Regions from separate parts of the Homo sapiens genome. Here region 1 is linked to region 2. The links are contacts of gene promoters, found by promoter capture Hi-C in blood cells and fetal thymus (Javierre and others, 2016). All regions are on one chromosome and are shown on one strand. The core of a region is centred on a gene start or on the middle of the fragment in contact, and the rest is flanking DNA. Distances in the headings are between cores, read along the strand shown. Region 1 overlaps CREBRF (CREB3 regulatory factor). Region 2 holds the start of LCP2 (lymphocyte cytosolic protein 2).

What was found. The method cuts DNA at HindIII sites, captures the fragments that hold promoters and counts their contacts. A CHiCAGO score of 5 or more calls a contact.
Region 1: a contact is called between a fragment that was not itself captured here and the fragment with the promoter of LCP2 in region 2, in 1 of 17 cell types (activated CD4 T cells). The highest score is 5.5, in activated CD4 T cells.

Annotation. Positions count from the first base shown.
Region 1 is chr5:173,069,560-173,074,610 of GRCh38, forward strand. All of the region lies in intron 1 of CREBRF (CREB3 regulatory factor), which reads left to right. Among named protein-coding and RNA genes, the nearest start is that of CREBRF, 16 kb to the left of the region's middle. The HindIII fragment of the contact is 5,988 bases long and covers 128-5,051 here.
Region 2 is chr5:170,296,479-170,302,186 of GRCh38, forward strand. It overlaps LCP2 (lymphocyte cytosolic protein 2), which reads right to left and starts at 1,299. Exons shown (of 21, transcript NM_005565.5): 1 at 1,056-1,299. The coding sequence starts at 1,133. RefSeq lists an enhancer at 402-481. The HindIII fragment of the contact is 7,744 bases long and covers 128-5,708 here.

The sequences.
Region 1 (5,051 bases), core at 1,872-4,371, 2.8 Mb after region 2:
GATCCACCCAGCTTGGCCTCCCAAAGTGCAGGGATTACAGGCGTGAGCCACCATGCCTGGCCATGAAATTCAAAATATTCACTCACAATGCATAACCTTTTACCTAGAGTTTGTTCCTCATAAAGCAAGCTTTTTAGGAATGTTAGAGCCAAAGTGGCACCGAGCTTTTCTCAGTGTTAAAAGAGATGACTGCAAAACCATGTTCAAATAACCTCTGTACTGGCTATTATGTAGTTTATGCTGGTGGTATAGCCTGCTTCACAGTAGGAAGGAATTTGAATATATCTCTAGTATATTTCATGCTGCTTTTGAAAAGGTGCCAAATCTGAGAAAGGAGGAAGGAAACAATTTTTTTTTTTTTTGAGACGGAATCTCTCTTGTAGTCTAGGCTGGAATGCAGTGGCGTGATCTCGGCTTACTGTAATCCCGAGTTCAAGCGATTCTCATGCCTCAGCCTCCTGAGCAGCTGGGACTACAGGTGTGTGCCACCACGCCTAACTAATTTTTGTCTTTTCAGTAGAGATGGTTTCGCCATGTTGGCCAGGCTGGTCTTGAACTCCTGATCTCAAGTGGTCTGTCTACCTTGGCCTCCCAAAGTGCTGGGATTATAGGCAGTGAACCACTGTACCTTGCCCCTACAGTAAATTTTGAAGAAGAGTTCAAATCCTTGCTAACAACAGCATCAAAGTTGTTACAGTGTGTGAAGAATGTGTGGTGTCACTGGAATCCTGCTGTGTGCTCCAGTGCATTCTCACTTGCACCACTGCCTGTTTTTATGCCGCTGCCATTAATTGTACTGTTCTCTTTTTAACATTTTATAGATTTCTGCAGAACAGCTTAGAAAACAAAGTGATTCTTTAAAACTAAAATCTTTAACATCCTGCATAAAATATTTTGTTTTACTATGGTGAGTTTATCTTCCTGCTTTGTAGTTTAAAATATTAAAATAAAATAATGACGAGGGAGAGAACAATATAACATGCATCGGTCCAGTGCCTGAATTCAGTTGATTTAAATTAAATTTAATTCTACTTCTTCCTCTGTCCTCTCTTCCCTAGATAATAATTACATCAGGTCTTTAAAATGGACTAAAATTTAAATATCACTCTTCTTGGAAATTAAAAAAAATTCAGGAGTACAATTTTTCATATTTTTACTATATGATACTACAGTGGTTCAAGACTCAATTTAACAAACTAAGATGCTTTGGAGCACATAAACGATGCTCAATAAATATATATTGAATAATTGACTTTTTTGTAATGTCCTCATTGTGAAGAGCACCACACCTTTGATTCCTTATCCAGAAGGACATGTGGTCTTAGGGGATTTTCCCATTCATTTTCAGCCATCTCTTGTGTGGATGACTGCTCGGAAGGGCATTGCATTTGGCACTGTAGTGAAATAGATGTGAGATATGATGGTCATTCTCAAAGATGTCACAGTCTGGTAGTGGAAGCAAGGGAATAGGAGAGAAGATGAAAAATATGAGCTAAGACATGAAGGTCAGTCTCACTACTGGAAGTTCTTAGTGGAGTAAAGTGGGATTGTAACTATCTTGAGGATTAGGGGAAATGGTAAAATCAGTCTAATATTAGACTTAAGAGTAGTGGAAGACAGAGTTGGAAAGATAGTGTCATTGTGTATGAGTATTTTTGTTTGTTTGTTTGAGATGGAGTTTTGCTTTTGTTGCCCAAGCTGGAGTGCAGCGCCATGATCTCGCATCACTGCAACCTCCGCCTCCTGGGTTCAAACGATTCTCCTTCGTCAGCCTTCTGAATAGCTGGGATTACAGGTGTGAGCCACCACGCCCAGCTAATTTTTCTTTTTAGTAGAGATGGGGTTTCATCATGTTGGCCAGGCTGGTCTCACACTCCTGACCTCAGGTGATCCACCCATCTTGGCCTCCCAAAGTGCAGGGATTACAGGCATGAGCCACCGTGCCCGGCCTTGTTTTTGTTTTTTTAAGAGACTAGGTCTCACTTTGTGGGCCAGGCTTCTCTCAAACTCCTAGGCTCAAGTGATCCTCCTGCCTCAGCCTCCCAAAGTGCTGGGATTACAGGTATGAGCCACTTGTGTCTGGCCTAAGGTCTGAGTAGTTTGGACATTATCCAAGAAATGTATGGGAGTTGCTGATGACTTTGGAGCACAGTGTTAATATGACGTGTGGTAGGTTAGAAAGAATAATTTTATCTTATATTAATAATTATTTTAGGCTGGGCATGGTGGCTCATGCCTGTAATTCCAGCACTTTGGGAGGCCAAGGCAGGCGATTGCTTGAGCCCAGGAGTTCGAGACCAGCCTGGGTAACATGTTGAAACCCTCTCTAAAAAAAAAATGCAATAATTAGCCAGGCATGGTGGCATGTGCCTGTATTCCCAGCTACTTGGGAGGCAGAAGTGGGAGGGCTGCTTGAGCCTGGAAGGTGGAAGTTGCAGTGAGCTGAGATCACTCCACATCACTCCAGTGTAGGTGACAGAGCAAGACCCTGTCTCAAAAAATTATTTTAATAATTTTCATTAATTTTTAATAATTATTAAATTTAAAATTTTTCCTTTTTTTTTAAGAGACAGAGTCTCACACTGTTGCCCAGGCTGAAGTGCAGTGGCACAATCATAGCTCACTACAGTCTTGAACTCCTGAGCTCAAGCCATCCTCTTGACTCAGCCTCCTGAGTAGCTAGGACTATAGGCATGTGCCACCATGCCTAATTTTTTTATCCCTTTTTTTTTTTAAGACAGTGTCTTGCTCTGTCGCCCAGGCTGGAGTGCAGTGGCGCAATCTGGGCTCACTGCAAGCTCTGCCTCCCGGGTTCATGCCATTCTCCTGCCTCAGCCTCCTGAGTAGCTGTGACTACAGGCACTGGCCACCACGCCCGGCTAATTTTTTTTGTTTATTAGTAGAGACGAGGTTTCACCGTGTTAGCCAGGATGGTCTCCATCTCCTGACCTCGTGATCTGCCTGCCTTGGCCTCCTAAAGTGCTGGGATTACAGGCGTGAGTCACTGTACCTAGCTGCCTGGCTGATTTTTACTTTTTTTTTTTTTTTTTGTAGAGACAGGGTCTCACAATGTTTCCAAGACCAGTCTCAAACTCCTGGCCTCAATTAATCCTCCTGCCTCGGCTTCCCAAAGTGCTAGGATTATTGGCATAAGAATAATTTTAAAATGGGGCATAAGAACTCAAGAGAGGGAGAGGAGGATAGAGACAGGAAGACTGTAGGGTAAATATTAGAATGGTAAATATAAGATGATGAGGACCAAGTAAGGGTTGAAAAAGAGGGAAGGGCAAAGTCAAACAGATGCATTTGTGCTCAGTACAAGGTAAGTGATCTGTACATCTTTGTTAAAAAGAATTGGTATGATTCAACAAAATGAGTAGGGGAGGAGAATTTAAAGAGTGAAGGCTGAAATCAGCCTTCTATCCCTGAAAGTCAGAGAGTGATAGTATTGACAGAATAGGAATGTTTGGATGGGGAGATGGCATGTTGTATCTGCAGTGATGGAATGTGAACATGGAGATATCCACATCTCAGATGATAGAGCTCACGCATGCACATGTTTAGGTTCAAAATGTAGATTTGCGAGTCTTTTAGAAATGATCTCTGAGGCCCAAAGAGTAGAGATAGTCTTTGTAACAATAGGTTTGCTTGGAGGCATCCATTTACTGAATGACCTTGGACAAATCTCTTACCCTTGCTGTACTTTTTATTTATTGATGTAAAAAGGGTTGGACAGGGACTGGGGGATAGTGGTTATCCTGATACCAAGACTATATTACCTAGATGTTTTATCAAAATACTGGTCCTTGTTACTTCACCAAGTTGTTTTATTAAATGACAGGGTTTAGAAATGTACTTTAATCTGTAAACAGCTACACAGATACATACAAACTGAATATTTTGTCCCCAGTGGTAATCAAAGTTGGCTGGGATTAGAAATGCATTCTCTGGTTCTGTCTAAAATTGTTCCATGCTCTTATTCTTGTGCTCTGAACAACTTAATTGACAGATACCAAGGCTGCAGAAAGCCTCCAATACCTTGCAATTGATAGTTTTCAGAAATAAAAAGTAGTCCTTCCCATTCAACTCAGATTAATCCAGAAACTTGCTTTAATAGTCTTTTTAGGGCCGGGCGCAGTGGCTTACGCCTGTAATCCCAGCACTTTGGGAGGCCGAGGCGGGCGGATCACGAGGTCAGGAGATCGAGACCATCCTGGCTAATATGGTGAAACACCGTCTCTACTAAAGATACAAAAAATTAGCTGGGCGTGGTGGTGGGCGCCTGTAGTCCCAGCTACTCGGGAAGCTGAGGCAGGAGAATTGCTTGAACCTGGGAGGCGGAGGTTGTAGTGAGCCGAGATTGCGCCACTGCGCTCCAGCCTGGTGACAGAGCGAGACTCCGTCTAAAAAATAAAAAATAAAAATAAATAAATAAATAAATAAATAAATAGTTTTCTTTTTGGCCGGTTGCGGTGGCTCATGCCTGCAATCCCATCCCTTTGGGAGGCTGAGGCGGGTAGATCACCGGAGTTCAGGAGTTTGAGACCAACGTGACCAACATGGTGAAAACCCACCTCTACTAAAAATACAAAATTAGCCGGGTGTTGTGGCACATGCCTGTAATCCCACTACTTGGGAGGCTGAGGCAGGAGAATGGCTTGAACCCTGGAGGTGGAGGTTGCAGTGAGCTGAGATCACACCATTGCACTCCAGCCTAGGCAACAAGAGTGAAAGTCTGTCTCAAAAAAAAAAAAAAAAGGCTTCTTCCTTATTGGTTCCCAAAGAGCTTTGACTAAGCTCCCATATGTTGTCCCTGTAACCCAAAGATTAAAGTTGGATAGGAGCCTTTGGAAAGGAATTGAACAAAATTGTAACTGAGAGTTCTTCTGTCTTCCTCTAACATGGCATTCTAAGAAGAGATCACTTTTGAGATTTAGTATATCCTCTTTGCTTTTTAAGATTTTCAGTAAAAGGTGGTTTTATTTTGTTTAATTACATTTTTTGTGGCAGACCTAATTCACCTCCCATATTTTATTTTTTATTTTTTAAAA
Region 2 (5,708 bases), core at 49-2,548:
TTTCCCCAGGAAAAACACGAAGCTGAATTAGATGACTTCTACCATCTTAGCTTTACAATCTCATCTTTATGACAGTCTGGAATATCAACAGAATCCGATGCCAGCCTGCAGGGATGAGGGTGTTAGAAGCTTAACCGTCTCGCACAAGTCATCTTACCACATGGTCAGGGTAGAGGGACTATAACTAAGTCATGTGGCTTGAGATCTGCCCAAGCAGATGCGTTGTCCCCTTCTGCCAATGACCAAGCACAGGGATCCTTCAACCTTTCCTCTAAGTCCAGAAGATAAGACAGCAACGCTCTGGTCCCAGCACCGCCACAAGCCTCTTTTCCTCTAGGGGCCTCAGTTTTCATAGCTATAAATTGGGGCTCACATCAGTTTTCTGTCCTGCTTCACAAGACTCTCATAAGGCTCCAAGGAGACTGCCCCAGGCGGGAGCTTGAGGACCCCCCTTAGGGTCGTGAGCAGTGAAAGCCCAAATGCTGTGTCTGGCACTGCTCATCATAGTCCTCTATCCAGCCCTCCCACCCTGCCTATTCTTTCTCCTGCCTCCAGGACACCACGTCTCCCCTTTCTAGTAAGTAGCGTTGATCTCATTAGCAGTTACAACAGTTCTCTGCATCTCAGAGCATGGACTTTAAAACCAGATAGGTGTGGCTTGAGTCTTGCCTCTATCACATGTAGTCCCTAGGGCTTCGGACCATTTCACTTCCCTGAGCTGATTTTGCAGCTGAGTCAAGGGGATAACAATGCTGACCTCACAACATAGTAGGGAGCGCTAAATGGGACAGTGCCTGTGAGACACCGAATTCAAACCCTAGCACATAATAGGCACATACTCATTTGAGGGCTTCTGCTCCCATCCTTCTCTCCGGAACTCATGGTCAGGAAAACTCAGCGGTCTATATGGCGCTCACTCAACCAGTAAAGTTGCCATAGGGTTCCATTGCTATCTTATACACCTCCCACATTCTGCCCCAATTCCATCGTCAAGCCTCAGCTCAGCCCACCAAGGGCACTAGCATCATGACCATTCACACAAGAGCAAGGCTTACCTTCTTGAAATAGTCAGCAAGGCTGTCGGGGTCCCAGCCCAGGACCTCTGAGCGAAAGGGCACATTCCTCAGTGCCATGGCTGCTCTCCCGGGAAGAAGCTCACAAGCTGAGCATGGGCGCTTCACCCATGGGCAGAGAAGCTCAAATCCAGAGCTCGGAGGCGTTCTTGGCTCTTCCAACTCCCAGCTACCCTGTGGAACACCCCTGTTGGAGCCGATGTCTTTTCTGGCGTAGCCAGATCCCAGAAAGCAACGGCTTCCTCTGCGAACAAATATGGTCTCTTCTCAGAAAACGACTCAGCTAGTTTCCTTTACCACTTCCTCTGCTGGGCTCTAAATAAGTAAACAAGGAAGCCCAGCTCTGGAGGCTTGAGATGCAGAGAGAGCCACAGGGTTGGTAATTCCCCACTGGCTCCAGTCACCCCAACCCAGTAGGAGAGGCAATGAAGGGGTCTTAAACTCCAATGTGAGTCTGAGTAATTTTCCTTTAAACTCTGGGCACCCATATGTCTACACTGCATTCTTGCTCAGCTGGGGCTTTGCAGACCAAAATCTATCCTGACGGTTGACCTGAAATACAGACAATTTCCCACATCAGTGAACTGCTGGAGCATGTTTTTTTAATGCTTTCCAACCACTTTCCCCTCCCACCATCAAAGACTGGGATTCTTTCAGCTGCCTCTTTACAGTTGTCATGAGAGGGTCCTCAAGGAGTGAGTGAGTCAGGCACCCAGGGCTGAACAAGGTGCTACACTGTGCAGACAGGGCTCAGTTTCTGATATGACTATTTCTGTGCTATGCAACCTTAGGCAAGGAGTTAAAAGCTGGGAATCTCAGTTTCCAAATCTGTATAATAGGAAAACAGTGATTCTTCATATGCACATAAAACTTAGATGCATTCAACTAGACAAACCTAAAAAGAAAAATTAAAAAGAAAAAAAACTTAACAATTGCTATTGGTAGTGTCATATATTCCATTCACTATTGTTTCCACAATATATTTTATTCACTATTGATTCTGCCATATATTCTAGCCAAAGAGCACATTCCCTGGAGATAGGAGGTGAGAATTTGCTGTTTTCTTAGTTTCAGACATTGTTCATTTCTCATAACTGAACAACTTATTGGCAGAGGGTGAGTCCAGTGTATAAAAGCAACTATATTTGTGCAATAAGGCAACCTCTAAACACAAGTTACTACTTCATCTAATGCCACACACACACACACACACACACACACACACACACGAGTCATCTGTTCCAAGGCTGTTGCCTTTACTAAGTGATGCTATGTTGGTCCTTGAGGTGGTGCCTTCCTGAGGGTTTTCAAGCATAGCTTTGGCCATGCACAGTTTTCTTCTTATACACACTCTGAGGAGCCCCGCCGTCACGGTAATGCACCTGCCTCACAAGCTGGTGGGCAGCTTAAATGAAATACACATTTTGCTCCAGGCCCAGCACTAGCTCATCAATGTGAGCTGGTGTTAGCCTCACCTTAGAAGGTGCTGAGGGCATCAGTGAAGGTAGCCCAGGCCATTTGCTCCTTGCAGGGCCTCACACCTAAGAACTCTTTTCTTTTCTCTCTTTCTTTCTTTCTTTCTTTTTTTTTTTTTTTTTTTATTGAGACGGAGTTTCGCTCTTGTTGCCCGGGCTGGAGTGCAATGGTGCCATCTCGGCTCACTGCAACCTCCGCTGCCTCCCAGGTTCAAGCGATTCTCTTTCCTCAGCCTCCCGAGTAGCTGGGATTACAGGCATGCACCACCACGCCCAGCTAATTTTGTATTTTTAGTAAAGACGGGGTTTATCCCTGTTGGCCAGGCTGGCCTGGAACTCCCAACCTCAGGTGATCTGCCCGCCTAGGCCTTCCAAAGTGTTGGGATTACAGGCGTGAGCCATTGTGCCTGGGCCGCACCTAAGAGCTCTTTGTAGCTGATCATTCTGTATAAAGCACAGCTCTGCTGTACAAAAGCTCCATCACGGGTGAGAGGTCACCTGGTCTTTCAAATCACTAGCATAGCAGTGAACAATAAAAAGCCATTTGAAGAGAAAGAGAGAGAGAAATCACTTTGAAGTAGAGTAAGCACAGAAGATGTCATGGAATTAACTGGGATTTAAGCAGGGCCGTGGAGGATGGAGTAAAAGGGAGGGCATTCCTGACGTGGATCAATCAATCTCTCTCTCGCTATCTCTCAAAACACATGCCACCTATGAAAAGGAACATTCCAGATCATCCTTAAAAGTAGAAGCAATTTTACTTTATTTTATTTTAATTTCTCCTTTTTATTTGCTTTTGTTTTATGTTTAGAGATGGGGCCTCCCTCTATTGCCCAGCCTGGAACGCAGTGGCACAATTATAGCTTACTATAGCCTCGAACTCCTGGGATCAAGTGATCCTCTCACCTCAGCCTCCCAAGTGGCTGGGAGTACAGGCATGCACCACCATGCTCGGCTAATTTTTTTATTTTTACTCTTTTGTGGAGATGGAGTCTTGCTTTGTTTTCCAGGCTGTTCTTGAACTCTTGGTCTCAAGCGACCCTCCCATCTTGGCATTACAAAGCGCTGGGATTATAGGTGTAAGCCACCAAGACTGGCCTAATTTTCTTAATGATGTTCACCCCACTCAGGATAAGAAAAATCTACAAAAAAGCAGTTGTAATGAAGGTATCACTAAATATTAGGCTCCTTTAGAAAGAATTATCCAATTAATGTGGCCAAGATGGAGGATCCATGGAGCTCATTTAGAAGACAGACAAAGCAGCTAAGAAACCTGGATGACAATAATGGTGACTTTGAGAAACATAAAGAGACACGATGCCTTGAGCTCTTCCTATGGTCCAGAGAGCACAAGCTAAGAACTTCTTACTGACTGTCTTAATTGTTGGCACTATTGTTGCTCCTACTCTACAGAAGAGAAAATTGAGGCTCCAAGAGGTGAACTACTTGCCCCCTGAACCCAGCAAGTAGGGAGTGAATCCAGGACTCTTCCAAAGTTGATCTGAGTCCAGAGCCCCTGTCCTTGGCCATTTGCCACCTTGAGGCTCTGAGATGTTACAGAAACTGCCTAAGGTAGACTTGGGATTCAAACCCAGTCTGTCTCCAGAGCCTGCGCAGTTTCTTCTCTGTGGCCTCTGGTGAGGAGAAAGAGAGGTTGTCAATCTGAACAAGCTCAGTAAAGGATGCAGCACTCTGCATGAGGCGGGCACTTGGTGCCCCCTCCCCACAGAACCACAGGCCCATTCCTCAGAAAGGGCAGCTGGTGCAAGGGGAAGCATGTTGCTTCAGGCCTGGAGGCTTTCCTCTTCCCCAGGCCTTGCTGATTTCCCAACACTCACGAGTTTCACATCTCCTGTCTCTGGCTGGCGGGTTCCTGAAGCTCCAGAGACCGGGCTAGTTAGCCCCCAAGAGAGACTCAGGAGACCAGAAGGACCACTGTGACCCTGTGCAGGCTCAGCCGCAGGCCCCTCACCTCCAAAATGGGGCGGCCATGAAAGCAGCCTCTGGGTACAGCCCCCGACAGCGTGGCTGCCATGACCATGGAGGCCAGGGGCAGCAGCTGGGTGTACAGCATCTGTCTGTTGGCTTCAAGCATGAAGCAGAGCAGAGGGTGGGGATCCAGTAGGGCATAGTGATTTGAAGCAGTGGTGGGGATACCCTCGCCCATGTCTGTCTCCCTCCCCCAACCAGGTGGAGAACTCCGCAGGTACGAACGAGGAACGAGGTTACAGAGGCCTTCTTAGGCTTTGTGATGCATAGCTCAAGATTTGGGAAAAGGTAAACAACCTCTGAGCAGAATAAAAACAACATTCTAGGGGCTGGGCACAGTGGGTCATGCCTGTGAGTCACGTTGTGGGTCAATCCCAACACTTTGGGAGGCCAAGGTGAGTGGATAATCTGAGGTCAGGAGTTCGAGACTGGTCTGACCCATATGGTGAAACCTTGCCTTTACGAGAAATACAAAAATTAGCCAGGCGTGGTGGCATGAGTGCCTATAGTCCCAGCTACTGGGAAGGCTGAGACAGAATTGCTTGAACCTGGGAGGCGGAGGTTGCAGCGAGCCGAGATGGCACCACTGCACTCCAGCCTGGGTGACACAGCAAGACTCCCTCTCAAAAAAAAGAAAAAAAAAGACAACATTCTGCTCCTACACAGAAACAGGGCTCATGGAATAGGAATGATTTTTCTTTGTTTTTGTTTTTGGAGATGGAGTCTCACTCTGTCACCCAGGCTGGAGTGCAGTGGTGCCCTCTCTACTCAGTGCAACCTCCCCCTCCCAGGTCCAAGCAATTCTCCTGCCTCAGCCTCCCGAGTAGCTGGGACTACAGGCACATGCCGCCACGCCCAGCTAATTTTTTGTATTTTTAGTAGAGATGGAGTTTCACCTTGTTGCCCAGGCTGGTCTCAAACTCCTGAGCTCAGGCAATCCGCCTGCCTCGACCTCCCAAAGTGCTAGGATTACAGGTGTGAGCAACCACGTCCGGCCAAGGGATAGGAACCTTTACTGCACAACCAGTGGAGCCTGTGGACAAGAAAGCAGTACCTGCAGGGAGGCTGTGTCAGATTGTGAGAGTGGATGTGGGAGCAGCAAACTGCAGCCCAGGGCATCGCCTGAATCTCCTCCCCACCCCACCCATCACGTCCAGACTCCCAGCTCCCT